Linked DNA regions of Homo sapiens: all the other regions are linked to region 1. Evidence: promoter capture Hi-C in human tissues and cell types (Jung and others, 2019). All regions are on one chromosome and are shown on one strand. Each heading gives the region's core, a stretch centred on a gene start or on the middle of the fragment in contact. The rest is flanking DNA. Distances are from core to core; before and after follow the strand shown. Region 1 holds the start of FAM185A (family with sequence similarity 185 member A). Region 2 overlaps SLC26A5 (solute carrier family 26 member 5). Region 3 overlaps SLC26A5 (solute carrier family 26 member 5). Region 4 overlaps PMPCB (peptidase, mitochondrial processing subunit beta). Region 5 has its middle 8.0 kb from the start of PMPCB.

The links. The method cuts DNA at HindIII sites, captures the fragments that hold promoters and counts their contacts. A contact is called where the count stands out against the background at its distance.
Region 2: a fragment that was not itself captured here is called in contact with the fragment with the promoter of FAM185A in region 1 in 1 of the 25 tissues and cell types used here (liver).
Region 3: a fragment that was not itself captured here is called in contact with the fragment with the promoter of FAM185A in region 1 in 2 of the 25 tissues and cell types used here (hippocampus and lymphoblastoid cells).
Region 4: a contact is called between a fragment that was not itself captured here and the fragment with the promoter of FAM185A in region 1, in 2 of the 25 tissues and cell types used here (dorsolateral prefrontal cortex and thymus).
Region 5: a contact is called between a fragment that was not itself captured here and the fragment with the promoter of FAM185A in region 1, in 1 of the 25 tissues and cell types used here (neural progenitor cells).

What each region holds. Positions count from the first base shown.
Region 1 is chr7:102,747,707-102,750,289 of GRCh38, forward strand. It overlaps FAM185A (family with sequence similarity 185 member A), which reads left to right and starts at 1,293. Exons shown (of 8, transcript NM_001145268.2): 1 at 1,293-1,952. The coding sequence starts at 1,502. It also overlaps the pseudogene RASA4DP. RefSeq lists silencers at 983-1,072, 1,113-1,282 and an enhancer at 1,016-1,310. The HindIII fragment of the contact is 9,642 bases long and covers 1-2,583 here.
Region 2 is chr7:103,403,858-103,406,440 of GRCh38, forward strand. The region is part of intron 8 of SLC26A5 (solute carrier family 26 member 5); the gene reads right to left. Among named protein-coding and RNA genes, the nearest start is that of SLC26A5-AS1, 40 kb to the right of the region's middle. The HindIII fragment of the contact is 3,935 bases long and covers 1-2,583 here.
Region 3 is chr7:103,375,508-103,378,090 of GRCh38, forward strand. SLC26A5 (solute carrier family 26 member 5) reads right to left here. Exons shown (of 20, transcript NM_198999.3): 18 at 2,092-2,292; 19 at 1,301-1,355. Among named protein-coding and RNA genes, the nearest start is that of PSMC2, 29 kb to the left of the region's middle. The HindIII fragment of the contact is 3,745 bases long and covers 1-2,583 here.
Region 4 is chr7:103,307,753-103,310,335 of GRCh38, forward strand. PMPCB (peptidase, mitochondrial processing subunit beta) reads left to right here. Exons shown (of 13, transcript NM_004279.3): 8 at 1,200-1,343; 9 at 2,563-2,583. Among named protein-coding and RNA genes, the nearest start is that of PMPCB, 12 kb to the left of the region's middle. The HindIII fragment of the contact is 4,844 bases long and covers 1-2,583 here.
Region 5 is chr7:103,288,160-103,290,742 of GRCh38, forward strand. No RefSeq gene overlaps it. Among named protein-coding and RNA genes, the nearest start is that of PMPCB, 8.0 kb to the right of the region's middle. The HindIII fragment of the contact is 9,549 bases long and covers 1-2,583 here.

The DNA of each region.
Region 1 (2,583 bases), core at 43-2,542:
CATTTTATGAAATGTTAGTGTTTGCAGGTGTCTTGGCTAAATAATTTAGGGAATACATTTTAGGAGGAAGTAGGGGCACAGAGGGGGAGAGAGAAACCAGGCAGGAAAGAAGAAAAAAAGAAAAAAGAAGAAAATAAATCTTTCTGTTCCCATTATTTTACTGCCTATAGAATTATAAAAGGTAAACACACACACACACACACACACACACACACACACACCCCTTATAGGGTCATTTAGAACCATCTTTCTTCATTTTAAAACTAAAGAAACAGGTCTAGGTGACACAGATGAAGCAGTGGCAGAGCCAGGAAAATAACCTGACCCTTGTCCCTGCTCTTTCCACCGCACCATGGTGACTCTCTTTTTTGTGTCTTTTTTTTTTTTTTCACTCTAAAACTGAGGATCATTTGTAGTCAAAGAGATCAATGCTATTCTCAAAACAAGTTCTGATCTCTCATAATTTTCTTGGTAACTCAGAATCAATGTTAAGTACGTTGAAATAAAAATACAGTTCTTTACACGGTAATTTTGTAGACTGTGCACCACGGTCCCATCCATTTTCTTACTTGATCCTTACAAAAACCCTTTGAGGCAAGGCAAGGAAGGTATTATTATCTACATTTTTAAAGTGAGCAAATTAAAACCCAAAGTAAGGTCACTTAGGGTCAGGACGGAGCAAGTACTCTATTCCTATATTTGGAATATAGGAGGGAATACACTTCCAAAGAGGCAATTCCCTCAAAAAGCACCAATCTTGCTCTTTACTTTCTTACCAAGGCATTCTCCATGCCCTGGAGATGCCCTCACTAAGTTAGTGAAGCTTGGATGTTGACATCCACAGAGGTTACTCCTAGTTTGCACCTAGTTGTCATCTTAAAAAGCGCAGTTTCTTACCCCTTCCCTTGGTCCTGATCCTTATTTAGGCTCCTATTTTTCTCTTTGGGATTTGGCGTCCTGGGTCTCACTCCAAAGCTCCACCCTCTCCAACCAAGAAGTCGCGTGCTTGGTATCCAAGGTGACCACGCAGCTTTACCCGCGTTGCCCCTTCCGTGCTTCCCATTGGCCAGTGGACTCCCATGTACCGCCCCTCCAATAGCCAATGGTCTTGAGACAAAGGGCGCCCGCCTTTCCAGCGATTCTAACACCTACCCTCTTACCCGTGCTCCCCTGCGCATTGCCTCCTGGGAAATGTGGTTTCTAAGAGGCAGAGCTCTGCGACTTAGAACTACCTATCCCGTCGGCCTTAGCGAAAGGGGGTGGACTTAGGCAAGGGGTCCAGGTCAGAGTTTAGAGCTTTCAAATCCCAACTTGCCCCTGGGGATTGCGCGGCTGATGTTTAGAACGCCTAGTCAAGCCAACCGGCTCGCTCTTGTTTCAGCAAACCCTGACTTACGTCTCCTATTTGACTTGAGGCGGCACAGTGGCCAAGTCGATTGGCCGTGGCAAGTGACCCTCCCTGTGGCTGAAGTGTTCTGAGGACTGGCGAGAGAGGCGCGCCATGCTTGCCCCCTGCTCAGGTTGGGAGCTTGGCTGCTTCCGTCTCTGTCTCCGTCAGGTCCGACTGTGGGCTGGCGCTGGGCGCTGGGCTTGCTGGGCTTGCCAAGCCAGGCCGTACAGCTCAGGTGGGAGCGAGCGCTGGCCCGGATCGGAGACTGAGGTCCCTCCGCCTGGCCCGGGGCGCCGAACTCTGAAGGAGTGGACACTGCAGGTGAGCCCGTTTGGTCGGCTGCGGGCGCGGCTCCCGTGCCACCTGGCCGTGAGGCCCCTGGACCCCCTCACCTACCCGGATGGCGACCGCGTGCTGGTCGCGGTGTGCGGCGTGGAGGGCGGCGTGCGGGGCCTGGACGGCCTGCAGGTGAAGTACGACGAGGATCTGGAGGAGATGGCCATTGTGTCTGATACTATCCACCCCCAGGCGTCCGTGGAGGTGAACGCGCCCCTGAAGTTTGGCAAGTGAAGTGAAGTGAAAACGGGTTTGGGTCCCAGGGAACGCACAGTGAACTTAATAAATGTGGTCGACGTGCACTTTTAATTGGTCCTGGCTCTCTAAACCTAATTTACAGTTGGCCCCTTCGGAAATGCACCTTTTCCTCTGTTCTGTTCTTGAGTGTCCGAGTAGTATTTAAAAATTAGGTTCCCAATTATAGAAATTTTATACATCGAATGGAAACATGATTTGGTATAATCCAGGTCAAATTCTATTTCTGGAGCCGCTTGTGTTCTCCTTTATCCCGTTGTCATTAGCAAACTGGCTTATTTTTCAAGGTTGAAGTTTCTTGACAATTCATTCAATGGTATGGCAGTCCATCTACATTTCATCTTGCTCACAGCCTGGGGGTCTGTCCCAAAACAGCCCTGTCAATAGGATGTTCCGGGTATCACCTGGTTTGAGTATTTGGTTTTAGACGGGCGCCCAGCTTCTTACTGTTATATTTCCATTCTTTTTGGCCTAAGTTTTCCATGAGTAGCAAGCTTTGAAGAAAAACACATGGTAAGCCTGCCTAGGAAGCTTCAATAATAATGCCTGCAAGATACCTTTCTTAGCTTTTCCTAAATGGCAAGCCACTGTGTACACACACT
Region 2 (2,583 bases), core at 46-2,545, 660 kb after region 1:
GCATTTAGCCCTCTTACATTTAAGGTTAATATTGTTATGCGTGGGCCAGGTGCGGTGGCTCACGCCTGTAATCCCAGCACTTTGGGAGGCTAAGGCAGGCAGATCACCTGAGGTCAGGAGTTCGAGACCAGCCTGGCCAACATGGTGAAACCCAGTCTCTGCTAAAAATACAAAAACTAGCTGGGCGTGGTGGCAGGCACCTGTAATCCCAGCTACTCAGGAGGCTGAAGCAGGAGAATTGCTTGAACCCGGGAAGCGGAAGTTGCAGTGAACCGAGATCGCACCATTGCACTCCAGCCTGGGGGACAAGAGCAAGACTTTGTCTCAAAAAAAAAAAATATTGTTATGTGTGAATTTGATCCTGTCATTATGATGCTAGCTGGTTATTTTGCCCATTAGTTGATGCAGTTTCTTCACAGTATCGATGCTTTTTACATTTTCATTTGTTTTTGCAGTGGCTGGTACCGGGTTTTCCTTTCCACATTTAGTGCTTTCTCAGGAGCTCTTGTAAGGCAGGCCTGGTGGTGACAAAATCTCTCAGCATTTGCTTGTCTGTAAAGGATTTCATTTATCCTTTGCTTATGAAGCTTAGTTTGGCTGGATGTGAAATTCTGGTTTGAAAATTTTCTTTAAGAATGTTGAATATTGGCTCCCACTGTCTTCTGGCTTGTAGGGTGTCTGCAGATAGATCCGCTATTAGTCTGATGGGGTTCCCTTTGTGGGTAACCCGACCTTTCTCTCTGGCTGCCCTTAACATTTTTTCCTTCATTTCAACCTTGGTGAATCTGATGATTATGTGTCTTGGGGTTGCTCTTCTTGAGGAGTATCTTTGTGGTGTTCTCTGTATTTCCTGAATTTGACTGTTGGCCTGTCTTGCTAGGTTGTGGAAGTTCTCCTGGATAATGTCCTGAAGAGTGTTTTCCAACTTGGTTCCATTCTCCCCGTCACTTTCAGGTACACCAGTCAAACGTAGGTTTGGTCTTTTCACACAGTCCCATATTTCCTGGAGGCTTTGTTCATTCCTTTTCATTCTTTTTTTTTCCTCTAATCTTGTCTTTACACTATATTTCATTAAGTTGATCTTCAATCTCTGATACCCTTTCTTCTGTTTGATTTGACTATTTATACTTGTGTATGCTTCATGAAATTCTTGTGCTGTGTTTTTCAGCTCCATCAAGTCATTTATGTTCTTCTCTAAACTGGTTATTCTAGTTAGCAATTCCTCTAACCTTTTTTCAAGGTTCTTAGCTTCCTTGCATTGGGTTAGAATATGTTCCTTTAGCTCGGAGGAGTTTGTTATTACCCACCTTCTGAAGCTTACTTCTGTCCATTCGTCAAACTCATTCTCCATCCACTTTTGTTCCCTTGCTGGTGAAGAGTTGTGATCCTTTGAAGGAGAAGAGGTGTTCTGGCTTTTGGAATTTTCAGCTTTTTGCATTGGTTTTTCCTCATCTTCATGGATTTATCTACCTTTGGTCTTTGCTCTTGGTGACCTTCGGATGGGGTTTTTATGTTGACGTCCTTTCTGTTGATGTTGATGCTATTCCTTTCTGTTTGTTAGTTTTCCTTCTAACAGTCAGGCCCCTCTGCTACAGGTGTGCTGGAGTTTGCTGACGTCCATTCCAGACCCTGTTTGCCTGGGTATCACCAGCGAAGGCTGCAGAACAGCAATGATTGCTACCTGTTCCTTCCTCCAGAAGCTTTGTCCCAGAGGGGCACCCGCCATATGCCAGCCAGAGATCCCCTGGATGAGGTGTCTTTGGCCCCTACTGGGAGGTGTCTCCCAGTCAGGAGTTACGGGGGTCCCACTTGAGAAGGCAGTCTGACCCTTAGCAGAGCTCGAATGCTGTGCTAGGAGATCTGGTGCTCTCTTCAGAGCTGGCAGACCGGAATGTTTAAGTTTGCTGAAGCTGCGCCCACAGCTGCCCCTTCCCCCAGGTTCTCTGTCCCAGGGAGATGGGAGTTTTATCTATAAGCCCCTGATTGTGGCTGCTGCCTTTCTTTCAGAGATGCCCTGCCCAGAGAGGAGGAATCTAGAGAAGCAGTCTGGCTACAGCAGCTTTGCTGAGCTGCGGTGGAATCCACCCAGTTGGACCTTCCAGGTGGCTTTGTTTACACTGTGAGGGGAAAACCGCCTACTGAAGCCTCAGTAATGGCAGATGCCCCTCCCCCCACCAAGCTCAAGCGTCCCAGGTTGACTTCAGACTGCTGTGGTGGCAGTGAGAATTTCAAGCCAATGGAGCTTAGCTTTCTGGGCTCTGCAGGGGTGGGATCCGCTGAGCTAGACCACTTGGCTCCCTGCCTTTAGCCCCCTTTCCAAGGGAGTGAATGGCTCTGTCTCACTGGTGTTCCAGGCACCACTGGGGTATGAAAAAAACTCCTGCAGCTAGCTCAGTGTCTGCCCAAATAGCTGCCCAGTTTTGTGCTTGAAATCCAAGGGAATCTTGGTGGTGTAGGCACCCAGGGGAGTCTCCTAGTCTGTGGGTTGTGAAGACCATGAGAAAAGCATAGTGTCTGGGCCAGAATGCACTGTTCCTCACAGCACAGTACCTCACAGCTTCCCTTGGCTAAGGGAGGGAATTC
Region 3 (2,583 bases), core at 22-2,521, 630 kb after region 1:
GTGTCATTTATTTTTGATTTTTGGCAATCTTACAGGTGAAAAGTAGCATCTTTATGAAGATTTCATTTTCAAGCACTTTTTAAAATTATTATTATTTTTTCTTTTAAATAAAGATGGGATCTCACTATGTTGCTTAGGCTGGTCTTGAACTCTTAGGCTCAAGCGATCCTCCTACCTTGGCCTCCCAAAGTGTTGGGATTATAGGTGTGAGCCACCACACCCAGCCTCAGGCACTGTTTTACTTTTTTTTTTTCCTTTTCTTTTTTGAGACGGAGTCTTACTCTGTCACCCAGCCTGGAGAGCAGTGGTGCAATCTCGGCTCACTGCAACCTCCGCCTCCTGGGTTCAAGCGATTCTCCTGCCTCAGCCTTCCGAGTAGCTGGGACTAAAGTCATGCGCCACCAAGCCGGGCTAATTTTTTGTATTTTTAGTAGAGATGGGGTTTCACCGTGTTAGCCAAGATGGTCTCGATCTTCTGACCTCAGGTGATCCGCCTGCCTCAGCCTCCCAAAGTGCTGGGATTACAGGTGTGAGCCACCACGCCGGGCTCCTTTTCTAAAAAATCATTTTCTTTCTTTTTTTTTTGGAAACAAGGTCTCATTCTGTTGCCCAGGCTGGAGTGTAGTGGCGTGATGTTGGCTCACTGCAACTTCTGCCTCCCAGATTCAAGACATCCTCCCACCTCAGCCTCCCGAGTAGCTGGGATTACAGGCATGCGCCACCATGTCTGGCTAATTTTTGTATTTTTAGTAGAGATGGGGTTTTGCCATGTTGCCCAGGCTGGTCTTGAACTCCTAGGCTCAGGCAATCCATCTGCCTTGGCCTCCCGAAGTGCTGGGATTACAGGTGTGAGTCACAACACCCGGCCTCAAGCACTGTTTTAACCAAAATGTAATATAAAACAAAAATAGCAGGCAAAGTATTCCCAAATGATTGGATAGAGAAACAAGCAACCTGAATGATTATATGTAACTGTTTATGGCAGCCATTAGATAATTGCTACTGTGGTCATGTATATATTATAATTACTATATTTATAGCAGCCATTAATATTATAATAAATGATGGCTTATTGGCTCCTTTCCTCCAACTCCAGTTCAGGAGGGTTGTCACAAGTAACTTGTAATATGAATGCCTCCATGTGGCTAATTTCAAAGCTGGCTTTAGAGTGATTTTTCAGAAGAACAATTTTCATTTTTATAAAATAATTAAAATTAAGGACATTTCCAAGTGCAATTATTTAAATAAGAGAAACAAAACTAAAATATTAAGCTTCACCCCATCTTAGAGGTATACTCACCACTGCATCCTGCTAAGTATACATATATACCGACGTCTCCATATTCTTTTACAATCTGTAATAATGTTGAAATAAAATTTAGTTTCTCTTTACTCTGTGCCAGATGAAAGTCTCTTTTTACCAATGTTTTTCGTGATAGAAGACACTCTAATTCATTCACTTGAGCTACTTTGCTTCAATAATGATGTATTTTTGAGCTAATCAGTTAAAAATAATTTTGTATCTCTTTTGCTTTTTATGTGGACAGTGATAATTAGGGGTAGCAAAAATACTGTTAAATCTTACTTAAGTACAATAAAACTATTATATTAACTTAAAGGATATTATAATTTCAAAATAAAAAACGATTTTTTTTAGAGACAGCATCTCACTAGTTTACTCATGCTGGTCTTGAACTCCTGAGCTCAGCAATCCTCCTGCTTCAGCCTCCTGAGTAGCCTAGCATATTACAGTAATGTTTTCTAAAACGAATCTTCTTGTAGCAATACACATTAAAATATTTACAGATGATGTTATGACTGGGATGTGTTTCAAAATAAAACAAGAGAAAGTGAATGTCAGCTATAAAGGAAACCAGATTGACCATAAATTGATCATTGTTGAAGCTGAGTGATAGTTCACGGGGGTTCAATATACTAAAATCTTTACTTCTATATATTTTTGAAATTTTCCATAATCAAAAGGGGATAAATCTTTTGTTGAAAAGAGAGCCTAGCCCACCTCCCTGATTATGCTGATAGTACGACACCAGGCATAGAGGTATTAAATGACTCGTTCAAGAGGATGCTTACCCCTGCCAGAGTTTTCACTCCAACAGAATCAATAAAATTGACTTGAGTGAAATCCAAAATGACAGTGTGGACGTTATCCCCTGGGGGCATAAATCTTTGCATTTCCTCAGGAAATGTGCTTTTGATCACTATTGGGGGATATTTTACTTCACCATCCTCTTCTTCAGGCTTGGTAGCATCCTCTCCATCTACTTCTGCATCCTGTGTCAAAAATTAAACCAAACCAGAATTTTATGAACAACTCACATTTCTGGTTGTGAGAAAGATTTATAATGGAAAATCTGCTCTTGTGTTCTTAAGCTACTGACTCTACCAGACCCCTTGTAAAATATTTGTCATATTCTAGCCTTGTAACTGAACAAAAAAAGGATGTATGTATAACATTCCATTTTAAGTCAACTTCTCTCTTTTTCCTTCTCCTCCTTTTTTTTCTTGTCCAACAAAATCCACTCTCCTCAGTTATCCTATCCATTTTCTGCTAAAGTCTAAAAT
Region 4 (2,583 bases), core at 84-2,583, 560 kb after region 1:
GTGTTGTATTTACACATAAGTAAACAAAATGTGCATATTTCCAGTAGGAAAAGAATGGAATAATAGGAAAAGGGAAGAGGATGTACTCATTTGCTTACATTCCTTCCTCTTCCGTATTCTTTAACCACCTATTTTTCTTCCTAAGGAAGCAAGGTTTTTTTTGTTTTGTTTTTAAATTTCTCCATTCTAGTCTGAAAGGAAGCAAAGTTTTTAAGAGCAGTTTATAATTTGGTCTTTTTGTGCTTTTTCTTTGGCACTATGCCAATTTACATATTGTAATATCTGGAAGTAATCTTTTAAACCCCGTATTTTGACTTTCACTTCAGGTTTACTCTTGGCTCAGTTTTGCCCACAGTATGTTTTGGGAGGGGGTAGTAACTGTTAGAGCCAGAACTTGCAGGGGATCTACTAGTTATCAACTAGCTTTAAGCCCCACTAGCTGCTTAGTTTGCCATGTTGAGGATGATGCTCAAAGTAGTATCTGGAAAATGCCCTGATATTGGCAGCTGCCTAGAACTGTAGCATTGGCAGTACAAAAATAAACCTGTAACGTCAATATGACATTTCAATAGAAAAGTTCAGATTGAGGCCGGGTGCGGTGGCTTACGCCTGTAATCCCAGCACTTGGAGAGGCTGAGGCGAGTGTGTCACTTGAGGTTAGGAGTTTGAGACCAGCCTCACCAACATGGTGAAACTCCGTCTCTACTAAAAATACAAAAATTAGCTGGGCGTGGTGGTGCATGCCTGTAGTCCCAGCTACTCGGGAGGCTGAGGCAAAATTGCTTGAACATGGGAGGCCGAGGTTGCGGTGAGCCGAGATGGTGCCACTGCACTCCAGGCTGGGCGACAGAGTGAGACTCTGTCTCAAAAAAAAAGAAAGAAAAAGACAAATTCAGATTGACAAACACAAAGGATTGATTTCTACCAGTGAAATGATGCAACCCTTTTGACCAGGTAAACCATGTGGTGCCTGTCTGTAGTAAAATGCTTTGGGAAAAGTAATTTTTCCCTAATTTAGTCTTAATTCTTCTAGATTAAACTCAACAATGTAATGAGGCCTGATAGTTAAAAAATCAAAATAGAGTCCTGGTGTGCATTTTAACTTTGCAGTTAATGGGACTGGTGATTTTTTCCTTGTTAATAAGCATGTTATATAATGTTAATCTTAACTAGAGGTCCTCCTGCTTTATCTTAACTAGATTCGTGTGAGGGATGACAAGATGCCTTTGGCGCACCTTGCAATAGCTGTTGAAGCTGTTGGTTGGGCACATCCAGATACAATCTGTCTCATGGTTGCAAACACGCTGATTGGCAACTGGGATCGCTCTTTTGGGGGAGGAATGGTAAGTGATTTTAAAAGAAATTTTCCATAACAGATGGAAGATTATCATGTTTTCTTAAATATAAGTTCTTTGTAAGAATCCTTTTTTAAAGTGGCAGAATAGAGTCTTGTACTGTGAATTCTGACTTAAAAATATAAACTGATCCTGGATTGCATGTGGGCCAGAAAAAGTTTCTTTTTTTCTTTGCCACAAAGTTTATTAGTGGCAAAATTTGAATAAGGACAGAATTAGCTAGAAGTACTATGTCAATGTTAATATCCTAATTTTAATAGTCAGTAGGCCCTCTATATCTGTGGGTTCCATATCCGTGGATTCAACCAACCATAGGTGGAAAATTTTGGGGAACAAATGGATGGTTGCATCTGTACTAAACATGTATGGACTTTTTTTTTGGTCACTTCCTAAACAATATAGTATAACAACTATTTACATAGCATTTACATGGATTGGGTATTTATCTAGAGATGATTTAAAGTATACAGGAGAATGTGCTTATATGCAAATATTACATATACCATATTACATGAGGGCTCTAGCATCTGTGGATTTTGGTATCCACAGGGATCTGGGAACCAATTCTCCACAGATACTGAGGAACTATACCAAGGTGATGTAAGAACATTAATTTCCTTGTTTTTCACAAGTACATACTAAAGTATTTGGGGCAAGAAGCATCACATCTAAAACTCAGTTGAAAAAACTTGTATAAAGAGAATAAAGCAAACATGGTAAAATAACAGGGAATCTAGATAAATGAAATTCTCTGTACTGTTTTTGCAACTTTTTTGTAAGTTGGAATTATTTCAAAACACATTGTATAGATTTGTCTTTACTCATAGATTTCTCCAAAATACATTTCATCTAAATAATCTTAAGCTTCATATGCAATATAACTTTGAATCTTTAAGCGTATGTAGCCAAGAGTCCTAGAAATTGGGTTGATAATAGCCATCTAGTTTTAGAAGTAGGTATAGCTACTACATTAATTATAAGGACTCATTGCTTTTATAACATGAATTTCTCCAGGGGGTGCACTGGGTAAGTGAGATAATAAACACAATTCTTAGTCATACTGAATTTTAACTCTACTACTGAGATGTTGAATAAAACTAGGAAACAGCCTCTAAGGATATTCACTATTTTCCACACACTCCATTTTTCTTTCTGTATTTTGGACATGTATAATTAAAATTCTCTTGGAATTTTTTTTTCCTTGCAGAATTTATCTAGCAAGCTGGCC
Region 5 (2,583 bases), core at 27-2,526, 540 kb after region 1:
TATAGTTCTGTAGTAAGTTTTGAAGTTGGGTAGTGTAAGTCCTCTGACTGTTTTTCCTCTTTAATACTGTGTTGGCTATTTTGGGTTTTCTGCCTTTAAATAAACCTTAGAATCAGTTTGTTCTTAGCCACAAGTAACTGGCTGGAATTTTGGTTGTGTTTGCATTGAATATATAGATCAAGTTGGGAAGAACAGACATCCTCACAATATTGAGTCTACCTATCCATGAACACGGACTATCTCTCCATTTATTTAGATCTTCTTTGATTTATTTCGTCAAAGTTTTGTAGTTTACCTTATATAGCTTTTGTGAATATTTTGTTTAAACCTATTTGTTCTTTTTTCTTTTATTAGTGATGATATATCTGTTTATTTCAAATTCCAATTGTTCATTTCTGGTATAAAGGAAAGCAACGGTCTTTTAAAGTATTAATCTTGTATCCTCTAACCTTGCTATAATTCAACCTTGCCATAATCACTTATTAGATCTATGAGTTTGTTGAAAGCACATTATTTTCTATTTTTTAAAAATATCAATAAAAATAGGAAGGAAAAGATCCATTAAAACTCCAAACAAACCGAACAAATAAACCCACTTGTATTGCGCATGAGAAAAACAGGTCAAGATTATTTTGAGGCCAGGTGCAGTGGCTCATGTCTGTAATCCCAGCACTTTGGGAGGCCGAGACAGGTGGATCACCTGAAGTCAGGAGTTTGAGACTAGCCTGGCCAACATGGTGAAACCCTATAGTGTTTTGTCTACTAAAAACACAAACATTACCCAGGCACAGTGGTGTGTGCCTGTAATCCCAGCTACCCGGGAGGCTGAGGCAGGAGAATTGCTTGACCCAGGAGGCGGAGGTTGTGGTGAGCCGAGATCACGCCACTGCCCTCCAGCTTGGGTGATAGAGCAAGAGTCTGTCTCAAAAAAGAAAAAAAAAAAGATTATTTTGAGGGCCCAGATCACTCTGGATTTTGGACAATGGGGCACCTTTGAAGTGATGTAATCTTCCCCCCAGCATTTTAGTATCACTTTGGACTGGTCAGGAATGAGTTAGAGGAGGGAAAGAGGCAATGCTGAGAAGCCAGGTAGGAGGCTGGTTTTAATTGTCTGGATCGTAAGTGATGGTGGTTTAACTAGTGTGGAATGGGGATTGAAAGAAAAAGATGGACTTGGGATACATTTTAGAGGTAGAATTAACAGAATTTGATGGCCGGGACTGGTGGCTCACGCCTGTAATCCCAGCACTTTGGGAGGCCAAGGCAGGTGGGTCACCTGAGGTCGGGAGTTTGAGACCAGCCTGACCAACATGGAGAAACCCCATCTCTACTAAAAATACAAAATTAGCTGGGCGTGGTGGTGCACGCCTATAATCCCAGCTACTCGGGAGGCTGAGGCAGGAGAATCACTTGAACCAAGGAGGCGGAGGTTGTGGTGAGCTGAGATTGTGCTATTGCACTCCAGCCTGGGCAACAAGAGCGAAACTCCATTTCAAACAAACAAACAAAAAAGAATCTGGTAATGAATTGTCTTAGATGGGAAAAACTTATATTTTGGGCAGGAAATGGGAGATCAAGGTAGGAATTTCTATTTATACTCCTTTGATATGCAAAATATAGGCTTAGAACCTGATATTAAGTGGTATTTTTTTTTTTTCTTTTCTGTCTATCCTTGTCTAGTTGGTAGGACATATTGAAAGAGACTGGCAATAAAAGCAAGGTAACAAAACAGCCACTCTGCAACAGACTGCCACATTTCTGGAGGTTTTTTTTTTTTTGAGACAGAGTCTCGCAGTGTTGACCAGGCTGGAATGCAGTGGCGCGATCTCAGCTCACTGCAACTTCTGCCTCCTGAGTTCAAGTGATTCTCATGCTTCAGCCTCCCGAGTGGCTGAGATTACGGATGCTTGCCACCACATCCAGCTAATATTTTACTATTTTTAGTAGAGGTGGAGTTTCACCATGTTGACCAGGCTGGTCTTGAACTCTTGGCCTTAAGGGATCTGCCCCCCTCAGGTTCCCAAAGTGCTGGGATTACAGGCATGAGCCACTGCACCCAGACACTTTTGGAGATTAAATAGGGTATTTGTCTATATTGCTGCATTATAAGTTAACATGAGCCTAGTGGCTTATGGTATTTCACAGTTTTCATGGGTCAAGAGTCCGAGAATGGGTCCTTTGCTCAGGGTCTCACAAAGCTGCAATCAATGCATCAGCCAGGGCTGGGGTCTTATCTAAGGTTTGGGGTCCTCTTCAAAGTTCACAAAGCTGTTGGAAGAATTCATTTCCTGGCAGCTGTAGAACTCCTGGTGGCTTGCTTCTTTAAGGCCAGCAGGGAGAATCTCTTACCTCTAGATCTTCTAACAAAGGGTTCAACTGATTAGGTAAAGTCCACCCAGGATAACCTCCTAGGTGATTAACTTAAAGTCAATTGATTAGGAGCTTTCTTGACATTTGAAAAATCCCTTCACCTTTGCTGTATAATGTAACCTAATCATAGGAATAAGATTCCATAGGGAGGGGATTATAAAGGGGCTTCGATTATTGGGGGACATCTTAGAATTCTGCCTATCACAAACTAAA